Linked DNA regions of Homo sapiens: region 1 is linked to region 2. The links are contacts of gene promoters, found by promoter capture Hi-C in human tissues and cell types (Jung and others, 2019). All regions are on one chromosome and are shown on one strand. Each heading gives the region's core, a stretch centred on a gene start or on the middle of the fragment in contact. The rest is flanking DNA. Distances are from core to core; before and after follow the strand shown. Region 1 overlaps CPNE4 (copine 4). Region 2 holds the start of MRPL3 (mitochondrial ribosomal protein L3).

Region 1 (7,664 bases), core at 2,999-5,498, 38 kb after region 2:
GACTGAATACCATGTGACCTGGTTTTCAGTTTTTTCTTTTCTATGTGGCTTGCCACTTGGCCATTTAACTTTACTAAGCCCCGCTGTTCTTAGAGGCAAAAGAGAAAAGAAAAATAATTCACTCTATCTCACAGAGTCTCAAAATAAGAGACATGTATCTTTTAAGCAATCTGAAAACACTGTAAAGAGTTTTTCTCAAGTGATCTTTCACATTTTGAAGATGTCATAGCATGATGGACATTTGTGATCTACAGATATCCCTTTATTTTATAAATAACTGCTCAGGGTTGTGTGTTAGACCATGGTCCATGTGTATACTGGGGCAGATACAAAAGTCATTTATACCCTTTCCTCCCTGGCTGTTTCTCATACAAAGGTTAGAAAGTCAAATCCTTGATTTTCCAGCTTCCTTTACATCTAGGGATAACAATATGACCCAATTCCATCCTTTGAGATATAAGTGAAAATTTCCTGGGGGAGGTTTTTTGGAAAGCTTTTCTCTCCTGGTTAAAAGTTAAAAGACTTTTCCCTTGTGAAAAGTCTTCAACAATACAAGAGTTTAACAGATTCTGGACTCAGGGCTACACATGCAAAAAAAATTTCAGATAATTAAAAATCACCAAAATGTGCTATTTTTAAAGGTGTATGTATTTTTTTAAGTACAGGAGTAGTAAAAGTATTAAATATGAAATATTAGCAGGAGTAGTATTTCGGAACTCTGTAAAAGTGTGTGGAGGTCATGGTGCTAGTGTTCTGGAAGACTTGTACATTTTTTCTTTTCTGTTTTTTTTTTTTTTTTTTGAGATGGAGTCTCACTCTGTCACCCAGGCTGGAGTGCAGTGGTGCGATCTCAGCTCACTGTAACCTCCGCTTCCCGGATTCAAGCAATTCTCCTGCTTCAGCCTCCAGAGTAGTTGAGATTACAGGTGCCCACCACCGTGCCCAGCTAATTTTATATTTTTAGTAGACATGGGGTTTTACCATATTGGCCAGGCTGGTCTCGAACTCCTGACCTCAGGTGATCCGCCCGCCTCAGCATCTCAAAGTCCTGAGATTACAGGCGTGAGCCACCGCACCCAGCCCTGAAGACTTGTACATTTCTGATGAACATTTTGGTTTAATCCCTTTGCCATTGTAATAGTCCAGGACTTAGTTTGGGACTTCAGCCAACATGCTCTGGACACAGTTGGCCCTATGTCCCTTTCCTCTTCCTTTCTATCTTGAAATAGAATGTGATTACTGGAGCTATAGCAACCATTTTATCATTATGTAGGAAGAGCAAAGGGAATCACAATGTGCTGGCTCTGACACTATTGAATCACTGACTCCAGCAGCAATGAGCCCCTAACTTCTAGCTACATGAGAAAAATACGTTCTATTTGTATAATCCAGGGTTTCTCAATCTTGACACTATTGACATTTGGGGCTGAATAATTCTTTGTGTGGGGGACTGTCCGGTGCACTGCAGGAAGTTTAGCAGCATCCTTGGCCTCTACCCACTAGATATGAATAGAAGCCCCATATTTGTTACCATCAAAAATGTCAGATATTCCAAAATGTTTCCTGGGGCATAATGTTACCCTTGGTTAAAAACCATTTATGTAATCCCTGTAAGATGGATTTACTGTTGCTTGCAGCAAAAAATATTCCTAAACCAGGCTGTCAAATAGATCTTCCTCTGATGATGGTAATATTCTATATCTGTGCTGTCCAGTATGGGAGGTCTTAGTCTCACGCAACTATTGAGTCCTTGAAATAAAGCAAGTCTGACTGAGGAACTGAGTTTGAAATTTTATTTTCTCTTAATGAATTTAAACGTAAGTAGCTACATGTGGTTAGTGGCTACCATATTGGACAGCATTGTTCCCAAAGGATCCCCCATCCCCTTGCATATCTGTGCTGGCAAGCAAATAAGGCTTTGGGGACATGTATTGGGTGGGAAAGGGTCAAGAATATGAATGAAGCTGGTAATAACAGTAATAAAAGCTTTATTTATTAACCACCTACATGGACCAGGCACTATCTTAAGCTTTATATAGACAACACCTTATCTTTGCAATGCATGTATCATTTACCTCATTTTATAGATGAAAGTCTGTGGCATGGAAAGGTTAAATAACTTGCCCAGAGTCACAAAGCTTAAAGCATATGATAGTTTGAGTGTGTCTCCTAAATTAATGTGCTGGGAACTTAATGATCAATGCAACAGGGTTGGGAAGTGGGGCCTCATAAGATGTCAGTATCATGGGAGCAGGTTAGTTATCATGAGAGTGGGTTGTTATAAAAGAGAGTCTGCCCCTTGTGCTTTCCTTCTCCTTGTGTCTTACATGTTTGCTTGTGCCTTCCATACTTCTGCCATGAGATGACCCTTGTAGGTGCTGGTGCTATGCTCTTGGACTTCCCAGACTCCAAAACCATGAGCCAAATACACTTCTGTTCTTTATCCAGTCTATGATATTCTGTTATATGAGCAGGAAAAAAGACCATAACATAACTTGTGCCCTGTAAGCTCTAAAGCTCTGAGTTATCATGCAGAGCAGAAAAAGAGAGGCAATTCATGAGTTAATGGCTTACATAAAATGATTTAAGCTGCTACCTTCCCTTTTATTTATGGCTTATTGAATTCAAAGTAGATTAGTTTGGGTAATGAAATGGATTTCAAAATCTGATTTGAAATCCATGAAGATAAGATGGGTGAGTATGCGCCTGGTGTTCTTCCTTGGTCATTCACAGAGCAGCCAGAGAATCTGTGTAGCACAGAGACTGTGAGCAGCACCCTACTTCCTTGCTCTGCCCTGAGCATTCCTCTTGTTGACAATGTCCCCAAAATTCCCTGCTCTCCAAGGCTCTGTCTTTCCTCAAACACTTAACTTAAGCTGTAAGCCTTTTCCCATGGCTACCTCTCTCTGCTTTGAGGTCCTGTAACAACATTTTAATTCTTCTCAACCACCCACAGGTTGCTTAGCATGTGATTTTTCTGCTAATACCTTTCTCCCAGTCATGCAATTCTCCAGTAAATGTCTTGAGGTGTGGATCCATGGTTCTATCATTTCATTGTGGTCCTAGTGACTAGCATGTGCCTTGCACAGAACAAGCATTCTGTAAGTGTTTTGGGGAAGAGGAGGAGACTTGAGGGTAGAGGTTAGAACCTTTCATAGTTCAGTGACATTGTGTCAGCACACAAGTGTGTGTGGGGAAGTGGGGAGGTGGGGGATGCAGAGGGGAGAGAGGGTGATTTGGGGAAGTTAATGAATCTCCTAGAGAGTGAACTCTTTGATCCTGCTGCACTATGCAAAGTTATCACTGGTATTCAGTGATGTGTCTATCTATTTTGTCTGTCTGAAAAGAATGCAGCATTAAAATCAGGAAGAACACCCTTTCCTCCATCTTAGACACCTAGGGAGAAACTAGCTTCATTAATGAACATAATTGCAGCAAATTTAGCCTGCTCTAGCTCATCCGTCTGTAAAGAATACTACTTCTTTTTGACTCTACTCCTTGCTGTCCATAGGCAGACAACTTTAGGGCTTAGTGCATCTCTTTCATTAATGAGTACCTTTATTTGAAAATCTCTTCCTAGGGAAACTTGAGGATGGCATATAACAACACAATTACCCCTCATCCACATGCACAGCCCTGGGAGCTTGTGGGAAGATTGACTGCTGTTGCTGTTACTTAGAAACTCTCTCTGTGATCAACTCTGTAGCCAGGGATTGGTTTTCTGCTCCTTCAGTGATTTTAATTACACTGCAGCCCTCCTTAAAAGTAGAGTAGTAATTGTGTGGCAGTACAGTTATGAACAATACCTCATCATCCAAGGAGCCTTGGAATGTGCAGTTACTTCCCTATGAAGTCTGGGCAGGTCATGAAATACAGAGTTCAGCTGAGGCTGCTGAGCTGGTGATCTATCTGAATTCTTATTTTAAAGCCTGTCCAAAGAAAGTGGCACAACAAACAGCAATTTCTGAAGAGCATATGCTAAAGGCTCTCACACTAGGACTGGTACCAGGATTACAGTCAAGTATGTATGGGGGTGGGAGGATGGATGGATCATTGTTTTGATGATCCATTTAGCTTTCCACCTCTCATCTGCAATTTCCTTACACAGTATAGGTGAGAGTCCAGTGTGAACCCAAGTTGGGAGTCAGATGTGTCTGGATATATCTGATAAACTCAGTATGAAGAATGTCAGGGATTCATTTGAATGAGTTTTTGACTGGAGGAGAAAGGCTTTACCAAATAAGGTTGAAGTGGAGGGGATGGCATCCTGCCTGACCCAAATAACTGATTTGAGCCCTATGCAGGGAGGGACTGCAGTGGAAGTTAATGAAGATACTTTCCAGCAGGGGTCTTTGAGATGTGGAGACACATCTCACTGCATTAATGACTCAGGTGACAGAGGGGACTCGGTAGCATGGAAAGGAGAGGATTCTCTTCTTTTCCAAGGAGACCACAGATAAGCTTCACGGTACTGAAGGTTCTGAAGATTCCCTGTTGCCAGGGCAGCTCAAGTTTAGTCACCAGCCCTGGGGATGGTATTGTTGGCATCTGCAGCAGTGCAGAGGGCAAGGCCTCAGTGGAAAGTAGGGGCTGGGCATATGCTCTCCTCTTGGGTGGCTTTCACAAGAAGCACAAAACAAAAAACACAAAGGCTATCCAGTAATACCCAAGTTACCCCCACAGGTGCCTAGACACAGCTAGGATACTCTAGAGGGGTCTTCAGGACTACCATTAGCCCCAAGGGAGGCTTTTATGAATTCAAGATGTCCTTCTGGGTGATTACAGCTCAGTAGGTGCAGGGATTTGTGGAAATTTAAAAAATGCTCCTTCCTCCATGGACACAATGTATCAAAACCTGGGAAGGTGGGAAAATTGTTACTGAGCATTTTTTCTATGTCATACTAGAGCATTGTCTAATGGTTCTGCCTCAAGGCCCTTGGGGAATGCAATGCTGCTTGACTGACTTACTATTTCTTACTGGTAAGAGCCCAAGACTGTAAAGTTAGGTATTAATTTATAGAAAACTGATAGCAGGCGATTTCTGGCCCACAGAGAGGGCAATTCAAAGATTACTTTTTTTTTTTTTTTTTACCCTCTTGGTCATTAATCAGTTTTCAATCTACCTTAGCAAACTTATTCAGCATTTTTTCCCACTGACTTTAACTGTCTTATTTATTTACTTTTTTTGAAACCAACTCTCACTCTCATCACCCAGGCTGGAGTGCAGTGGTGTGATCTCGGCTCACTGCAACCTCCACCTCCCTGATTCAAGTGATTCTCCTGCCTCAGCCTCCCGAGTAGCTGGGATTACAGGCGCCTGCCACCACGCCCAGCTAATTTTTGTATTTTTAGTAGAGATGGAGTTTTACCATGTTGGTCAGGCTGGTCTCAAACTCCTGACCTCAGGCGATACACCCACCTTGGCCTCCCAAACTGCTGGGATTACAGGGGTGAGCCACTGCACCCAGCCTTATATACTCTTTTGAACTAACTTTATCATCTTGTTTTGAAGGAGTTAAATAAATTTTTGATGCTGCTTACTATATTTTTTATAGAGGATTTAGGTTTCTATCATTTTGGAAATATACTTTGCCAAGGCAAACACAGACTTCTGCCAGGCCACATAGCTTGACAAGCAAAACATAAGCTGCATTTCAGTTTCTGCTTGGTACTTTGGGCAGGCACCTTTAGGCAGGGAACAAGCTGCCCATCTGTAGGCAGTCCTAGATGCACTAGAGATCCTAAATTATATGAATTATAGGGCAAGCATCAGTGAAATTTTGCCTACAATAGTTAGCATGGCTCCTGATCTGTAACTCAATTTATAATTTTTTTCTCCAAAGAGTCATGCTCTATATATCCTTGTTGTGGGAGATGACGTGGCCCAGGAAGGGATAGCTAAGCCAGGTCATCTCCCACAGCAAGGGTATGTAGAGCATAGCTGGTGTTGCTTCAAGAATGGTGGATCACCATAAACATTGGTGGACAAATGTGGGAGGTGAGCATGCTTTGGTTCTGCTCTTCCATGAAAAGTGCCCCAATGTGTATATGCATACGTGTTTGAAGTTCCTGAAGGGCACGAACTGGACGATGTCTCGAAGAACAGGCTCTCCCTTGGGTGACCTCAGAATCCCATCATCACCGTCCAGCATCTGCATGTCACTGAAGTCAGCGTTCCCTACTCCCACGATGATGACTGACATGGGGAGGTGGGAGGCATGGACAATGGCCTCCCGGGTGTCGGCCATGTCTGTGATAACACCATCTGTCAGGATCAGCAGGATGAAGTATTGCTGCAGTCAGATGCCCCATGATGATGGGGGGGGGTGAAGAGGTGAGGGAGACAAGGACAATACAATACCAGTTAGACACCCAGGTGGCCTCACTGCACATTGACCAAAGCAACAGTGATGACAGACATTTTTTGAATGTGCTGATAGTCCTAAAGGCTTAGGGTTCTGATGAATGGAGCTTAAAGGTAGGCATGGCAATTATAGCTTAATTATAATAACTACCTCACTGACAGTTACAAAGAAAGAGCAGCAGGCCAAGAGTTAGGAGGACAGGCTTCAAAGCCTCATTCTGTGAGACCCTGGGACGATCCCTTAACTCGTCTGTGTCTGAGCTTCTTCATTTCTCAAATGAGGGGTGGGACCCAATAATTTATATGATCTTCTTTACTTGAAGATATTTAAAAATCTAAAGCTATGACATCCAATACAATGATGACTAACCCCATGAGACTACTCAGCCCTTGAAATGTGGCTAGAGCAAGTGACGAACTGAATTTTATATTTTATTTAATTGTAATGAATTTAAATTTAACATTAAAATTGGATAGCCAATTCAGTTATTAGAAACATTTTAAGTATGTTTGGAACAACTTCAGTAGATTAATCTACTTTTTCTTTCTTTGTAACTGTCAGTGAGGTAGTTATTAAAATTAAGCTGTAACTATAAAATCTAAACAAAGATCAAGTATTTATGATAACTTAGCATCCAAATTGACATGCTGTAAGTATAAAATACATGTGGATTTTGAAGACTTATTATACAAAATAGAATGCAAATTATTTCATTAATAATTTTTTTATATGGAGTACATGCTAAAATGACAATATGTTGGCTATGTTGGTTTAAATAAAATATATAATTAAAATGGATTTCTCTGTTTCTTTTTACTTTTTAAAATACAGTTACTGAAGAATTTAAAACTGTATACATAACTTGTGTTATATTTCCACTGGATGGCACTAGTCTAAAGTCCTGCTATAAGAGGGTCAGGGTTGCAGTCTCTCCCTCTGAAGGCCATGTGCCACAAAGGTGGCAGCTCTTCTCCAGGCACACTTGCAGAAGGTTGCAGTGCTCCCATGGCTTCCTGCTTTAAGTCCTGACTTCTGGCCTGCAGCCTGCCTGGCCCCTTTCCATCTGGAAAGCTGGAAGATGACTCAGCAGAGATGGGAATTGGAGGAAAGGTGCTGTACTCAGCAGCACAGGGAAGCCTTGGAAAGTGCTCTGGGGCCTGGAGAAGGATGACCCATTGGAGGTCATCATTATTTTTAGTCAACATGAGAGGCATCATGATGGCCTTTACTGGTAAGAGGAAAGAGAAGCAGATTAGTCAGATGCAGCTCAGGCTAAACAGAAAAGAACTTTCAATATAA
Region 2 (7,370 bases), core at 1-2,500:
AAAAGAAAAAATAAATAAAACCAAACCACAATTTAAAAACTTCCTCCACTTAATATAGAAAAGGGAAGTCACAAATTGGAAAGTGTAGTCAGGGCCTTGGGAAAGGGCTTGGATTCTGTATACCTTTTTTTCAGGTCTCCAACCTTTTCCTCACTCCCCACATTCCTTCGGATAAGGCTCACATTTAAACTGTTAGTCGTTACCCTGGAGAAAAAAATTCATCTTCTCCTCGCAGATAAACATATTCCCCAAAAAACAGTCCTACCTATAGACATGAAAAGCCACTAACCCATTTGGAAGTGTACCTTAATAGTTTTACATTCAGTGGAGGTGGCAGAAGGTGGCATGTTGATCTTTGTCTAACAAGCTCACCTCCTCCCTGCAATGACATGGCCTAGGTTCAGAGAAGTGAAGAAACTGGGTGTGCAAAGTTAAAAGATCCACAAAAGGCATGACCTCTGAACAGGTGAACATACCAAGAAAGACCTTAGTGGGCGGAGGTCAGGAAGAAGGGGTGTAATTCTTGCATGGAGGGTCAGAACAGAAGTAAAGCTTTCTGCAGTCTACTCTCCTTTTGTAGTCAGATAAATTCAGGCTAGATTCCTAATTTTCCACTTATTAGTTGAGTGACTTTGGGCAAATTAACTCACCTCCCTAACCTTCAGTTTTATCTGTAAACCTTATGATAGCAGTTTGCTCCCGTGAGGCTACATAAGGCACCTAATACACTTAGCAGAGCGCTTAGTACCTGGCAAACGCTCACTAATTGTAAGATATGATTGCTGTTAATAGCGTTCGCTGCTAGTGGCTGGCTCATAAGCGTTTTTTAAAAATCACCACTTCAATCCCCTTAGAACGTGCTTCCTTAGGTTAACGGCCCTTATTCTTCTGTGTCCCACGTCTCAACAGAGCCCCTTCCTCCTCCACCCAGGGGAGGCCCAACTGCACCAGGCCATTCCACTGCTTCAGGACGCAACTGTGCAGGTAGGACACCCTCACACCTTCCTACCTGTTCCCCGGGCCCAGGGCAGCACCCAGGCCGTCCCCGAGTCGACCCAGCACCTGGGCGCCGACCTGCGTCAGCAGCCTCCAACCCGGCATGGATTAGCCCGGGAAGACTCGACTCACGACTTCCGGGCGCCCTGCCGCTCTGCTTTCAGGGAGTCCCCACGCCACCGCCACGTGGACGCAGTAGCCGTGGGGAAGTTTTCGCAATGGCCGCCGGAACGGTCGCCGGCCGATGCTCTCTGCGACGGAAAGAAAGCCGCCGGACCCACTTCCGGTGCGTTTTACAATGAACTCCGGGCACTCGAGTCGCTCCCCGGAAACTATAGTTCTGCTTCCACCGTTGTCCTACTTTGGATGTGAGTTGGAGTAGGTAGGGGTGGGAAGGGACTGACTCGCCTCTCCAGGGGTAAAATAAAAGGGATGTTCAGAGTTTAAACTTTAGAAGAATAAGGACAGACTTCCTGAGGACGCTAAGGAAAATGAAGACACTTCTAAATAGTGCCCGTTGTGAGGCAATGCATTATGCTAAGCAGCGCTTCATAATCCTATATTTGTTAATCATAAAAAACGGTCCTGAAAGGAAGTATTTATTTTTCTATTATAAATGAGGAAACTGACTCAGAATTTAGGTGCTGGTCCAAAACAACACATCTGGCAGAGGAGCAGAGTTGGCACTGAAACAGGGTTGGCATGTGTTATCAATAGACTACACCCATAGAAATGATGTATGCCTTCTAGGGCTGGATCATAAAACATATTGTTACTTCAGTTTTTGTCTCTTGGATTGCTCCCTGTGGAGAAAGCTAGCCTTCATTTCCTGCAGACACTCAAACAGCTCTGCAGGGAGGAACATATAAAGAGGAATCAACTAGCCAGTCATGACTGAGCCACCTAGGAAGTGGATCCACCAGTCCTCGGCTGCAACTCATGGAGACGTTAAGCCTGAATCTCCCAGCCAGGCCGCTCATGAATTACTGACTAGGAGAAATTGCCAGAGAAAATAAATGATTACCGTTTTTTTGAGTCATTAAGCTTTAGGGTAATTTGTTATGCAATAATAGATAGCTAATACACCTGCACAAAAAATCCCCTGTCTTGGGTTCCAGATCTAGCCTAATAACCATGTATGTGACTAGGACATTTATTCTTCTACTAATTCCCTTATTTGTCAGATTACTGTTTGTAGAAATTTGGAAATAAGAACTTTAAAGTGTAGCTATTTCAACCTTCTCTTTTTACTAGAGATCTGGCTATCTTGGTTTAACAGGTCCAGACAATGGTCAATTCCTGGCCATTACTTGGACTTTAGTGGGCTAAAAAATCTTTGCTTTGCTTGTCCATTCATTCCACTCATTGCTGTTGCAGTTACCTTAGACACTTTTCAATAATACTTTGGACCTTGAAGGAAAAACTACATCTCTTCATTCTAGCCATGCTGCCTGGCTTCCCAGATACTTAAGGATGGCTCTTCATTGAACAAACATGTTTTGAGGTGTGCTACATGCAAGAAGTTGAGAATAAGAAGATTTCTGTACTACTGCCAATAACTAACATTTCTTATCCATATAGTGTGCTAGAGTATGTGCTCAGCATTGTGGAAGCCCATAAGCCAAGGCTACTAGAAGAAAACGTGAACTCATACAAAGTCAAGTTTAATTAGCTTGATGCAGCAAAAGACAGCATATGTCTGAGGATGTTTCCAAAAGAGTGACCTGGGAGGGGCTTGAAATGAAATTTGGACTTAAGGCTGAGTGATTTTAAAGTGGCATCAGAGAAGCAGGAACTTGTTTTAGAATGGGTGCTGTCAAGAAGAAAGGACAGTTCAGCAATTGGATATCTTGATAGTCTTTGTTCTAGAGACAGGAAGAACAGAGAGGAAGTGGGCATGATGTTCATAAGAAAGCAGGAATCACTCAGAATAAGGAACTGTTAGTCATTTTGCTGCAGTGGTGTGGCCTACAGTACGGTCTGTAAGAAATATTGTAATGATGGGCTGGGCGTGGTGGCTCAGCACTTTGGGATGCCAAGGCGGGTGGATCACGAGGTCAGGAGATTGAGACCATCCTGGCTGACATGGTGAAACCCCTTCTCTACTAAAAATACAAAAAAAAATTAGCCGGGCGTAGTGGCGGGTGCCTGTAGTCCCAGCTACTCAGGAGGCTGAGGCAGGAGAATGGTGTGAACCTGGGAGGCGCAGCTTGCAGTGAGCGAGATTGAGCCACTGCACTCCAGCCTGGGTGACAGAGCAAGACTCCGTCTCAAAAAAAAAAAAAAGAAATATTGTATTGATGTTCTGCTATAAACACTGCAGTCCAGTTACTAATAGTATTCATTTTTACTCTCTCAGTGTATTTTCTCACTTGATTGTTATGACAATCTGCTGTGACAATAGTATAATTATCTGGATCTTACAGTTAAGAAAATAGGCATACAGAGATTACATAACTTAAATAAAATCACCCAGCTATTAACTGGTAGAGCCAAAGACTGTGACCATAGATAGAGCTTATGCTTTTAGACATTTTGTTTCTTTGGCTCTCTATGACAAATATGTCACTACTCTTGCCTTGGAATTTCTTTAAGGCTAAAGAGGAAAATCGGTAAGTAATCACACGCAGTGGTCAGTGAGGATTGAAGAGGTAGCCATTTGGTCTAACCTTTTCCCATAGTACCAAATATCTCCTAGTCCATAAGGAGGACCTTGACAGCAGGCACCACCGCTGAACTGAATCAAAGTAAAACATGGTTTGTCTGCTGTCGTAAAAAATGTGTCTCCTGATTGCCAGCCAGGGCTGAGTGGTGTCATACTTGATTTAGTCACTGTAATATGCTGCTGACAGCTACTAGGCCCAGTTGTCAAGGGACCCAGCCTAGGCTTTTCTAGGGCAGTCAGGCACTGACCTAGAGCTTCCTGTTATTTCTGATGTCATCCTTCAGACACTGCCTTAGACCCTGAAACTGTAATGCCATTTTGCCTCTCTAAGATTTCAATTCCTTATTGGAACGAAGATAACTTGCACTTTCTCTTTTTAGTGGTACAGTTCTATAACTCTTACTCCGCTAATTCAGACCAACAGATGATCTCATAAACCTTCTCTTATTAAATAAAACATTAGGAATAGATTCATTTTTGAATTACTAAAGCCATGTTCAATACAAGAGAATCATCATAGAAGGAGCAGATTTCAAAGCAAGAGTTCACTGGAAATAATCTTTTATATGTGTTCCTGCCATTAGGCTCTACCATTAGCTCTTATAATGTTTGTGATATATCCTGTATAGTTGGATTATTGCAAGATGGTAAATTTTGTGTTGGGTAATTTCCACTTTAGTATTCATTTATGCTGTCTCTTAGTTTATAACATACCTTATATTTGAAATTAGAAATCTTTTAAACAATGAGTTTGGATTTACTAAGTTATCCTTTTTTTTCTCCATTTTTCTCAAGTTGTGAGAATCTAGCATATTTTAAAATCAGTAAAGATGTTATGAAAGTGAGTCAAGCATTCAATGGGGATATAGATAAAATAAACTTTAAGAGATTTTTGAACTTTAAGATTTCATTGCTGGCTGAAATAGAAAATTTGAAAGGCTGTATTGCAAAATCCACAGATACTCATTCAGTAAGAGAATGAATTCTGCTTCAATGTCCTTCAGTAAGGCCAAATCACAATTTGTAACTTTAATATATTGCTTTTAAAACATAATTTTTATTTGTAAATTCCCAAGTAAGCCCACAGACTTTAGGGTTCCAAGAGATGATCAGAATTAAAATTCATTTGGCTTGAAGAAAGCCTTAAAAAAATAGAAAAAAGCAGTATGGCCATGTAGTAATCTGGGTTTAAGGTTTCAAAACTTAATGTAATTATACCAATGTCCATTTTTTAAAGTTCTTTGATTACTTAGAAAAAATATTAGCAACAGACAATGTAGCATCACATGCCAGGGAACCAATGCTTTTCAAAAGGACATCTCTTCCTCCCTGGTCTTCCTCCCAATGCCAGTGTAGTTTTGATGGCCAGAGTATAGCTCCAAACCAGTGGATACTCTAGCCACCTAGAATCATAATCAGGATTACCCCTCTGAGCCTTACAGATACAGAATCTGGAGAAATTCTAAAGACTGAGTTCATTTAGGATTTTGATTCCACTTAGAGGAGGCCTAGGGATTCCCTGAAAAATGATAAATAACTAACATTTGCATTGCTTTTGCTAAGTGGCAGACACTGATCTATGTGCTTTCCATATATTAACTTATTTAATCCTCACCTGTGAAGTGGGTACTGTTAGTCTCAACCCCATTTTACAAATATGGAAACTGAGGCACAGAGACGATGAGCAGGTCATTCAAGTGCACAAACTTTACATTTGTTAAGTAAGTGGTGGAGACAGGAGTTGAGGCCAGGCAGGCTGTCTAGAGTCCAAGTGCTTAACTGATCTGCTGTACTGCCTCTGTCCTTAGAAGAGAAAGCTGCATAGCACATTATTGGAACACTCAGCTCAGCATCCAGAGGATGCCCCAGACCAACAAAGATTGATGATGATAGTGCTAAGCCTGCATCTTTAGGCGTCTCATCAGTCTAGATCAGAATCCGTCGGTCTCAAGAGAGAATGATGAGGCCGAACTGCTTGAGATATTCACCCATTCAATTCCTATGCAACCTCATTGGAGGCTTTTCAGAGCCCACGTGATGTTGAAAGCCTGTGATTCTCAACCCTGAATGTGTACAAGATTTACCTGGGAATCTTGCTAAAATGCGGAACCTGATTCATTAGGTCTAGGGTGGGATCTGAGAGTCTGCATTTCTAAGAAGCTCAAGATGATGTCAGTGCTGACCACATTTTGGGTAGCAGCATTCTAAAAATGGCTGTGAACTCAGAGCCAAGAGACTTGGGATTCAATCTCAGGTCTAAACTTAACTAGCAGTGCGACACAGAGTAAATCACTTCACCTCTCTGCCTGTTCATCTGTCCAGCTGAGGTCCCTTCTAGTCTTCTAAGTGAAAGTCCTTCTGGAAGGTAGAAAACAGTAGTTATATTATTCTTTCTTTTTTTTTTTTCTTTTTTGTAAAGATGGAGTCTCGCTCTGTCACCAGGCTGGAGTGCAGAGTCTCACTCTGTCACCAGGCTGGAGTGCAGTGGCGTGATCAAGGCTCACTGCAACCTCTGCCTCCTGGGTTCAAGCAATTGTCCGCCTCAGCATACCAAGTAGCTGAGTTTACAGGGGCCCGCCACCATGCCCGGCTAATTTTTGTATTTTTTTTTTTTTTAAGTAGAGACAGGTTTCACCATGTTGGCCAAGATGTTCTTGATCTCTTGACCTCGTGATCCACCTGCCTCAGCCTCCTAAAGTGCTGGGATTACAGGTGTGAGCCACTGCGCCCAGCCACAATAGTCACATTATTCTAAATGTTTACGTCCTAATTCTTGAAATCTGTAAATGTCCTTTATTACGTGACAAAAGGGACTTTGCAGATGTAATTAGAGTTTTGAACCTTGAGATGTGGAGATTATACTAGATTATCTGGGTGGGCCCAATGTAATTACATGAATCCTTAAAATCTGAGAACATTTCTGGCTGTGGTGAGAAATGTAACAATGGAGGAAGGGTAAGATAAATGCAATGTAAAAAGAATCAACCTAACAGTGTTTACCTGGAAGATGGAAGAAGGGGTCCACAAGCCAAGGAATGCAGTGACCTCTAGAAGCTAGAAAAGGCAAGGAACTATATTCTCCTGTAGGAGCTCCAGAATAGAATGCAACCCTGCAGCCACCTTCATAGTAGCCCAGTGAGACTTGTGTCAAACTTTTGACCCCTAGAATTGTCAAATAACAAATTTGTGTTGTTTAAGCCATTTAGCTTTGGGTACTTTGTTATAGCAGAAATGGAAGACTATTATAGACAATTAAGCCCGAAGTTCAAAATGCTGGTAACTCATATAGCAAACAGAATTTGATTTTGGAATATTTTGAGATATAACATCAAGATTTTAAGAGAAACTGTTCTATTTTCTTTATTTAGTTTTGCTTACCTTTTTTTTTTTTTTTTTTAGAGATGGGGTCTTGCTCTGTCACCTAGGCTGGAGTGCAGTAGCATGATATGGCTCACTGCAGCCTCAAACTTGTGGGCTTAAGCGATCCTCCTGCCTGCCTTCTGAGTAGCTAGGACTACAGGTGAGTGCCACCATGCCTGGCTAAATTTTTCATTTTTTTGTAGAGACAGGGTCTTGCTGTGTTGTCCAGGCTGGACTGAAACTCCTGGCCTCATGCAATCCTCCTGCTTTAGCCTCCCAAAGTGCTAGGATTACAGGCATGAGCCATCACACCCAGCCAGTATTCTATTTTCTAGTTTCCTTTGGAGGT

Evidence for each region. Contacts are between HindIII fragments. The study calls those that stand out against the background at their distance.
Region 1: a fragment that was not itself captured here is called in contact with the fragment with the promoter of MRPL3 in region 2 in 1 of the 25 tissues and cell types used here (psoas muscle).

Annotation. Positions count from the first base shown.
Region 1 is chr3:131,536,501-131,544,164 of GRCh38, forward strand. CPNE4 (copine 4) reads right to left here. Exons shown (of 16, transcript NM_130808.3): 15 at 6,057-6,293. Among named protein-coding and RNA genes, the nearest start is that of MRPL3, 37 kb to the left of the region's middle. The HindIII fragment of the contact is 6,018 bases long and covers 1,240-7,257 here.
Region 2 is chr3:131,501,721-131,509,090 of GRCh38, forward strand. MRPL3 (mitochondrial ribosomal protein L3) reads right to left here and starts at 1,251. Exons shown (of 10, transcript NM_007208.4): 1 at 1,010-1,251. The coding sequence starts at 1,101. It overlaps LOC105374114 (a long non-coding RNA gene), which reads left to right and starts at 879. Exons shown (of 3, transcript NR_189111.1): 1 at 879-984. RefSeq lists enhancers at 887-1,573, 1,080-1,149. The HindIII fragment of the contact is 5,057 bases long and covers 1-4,750 here.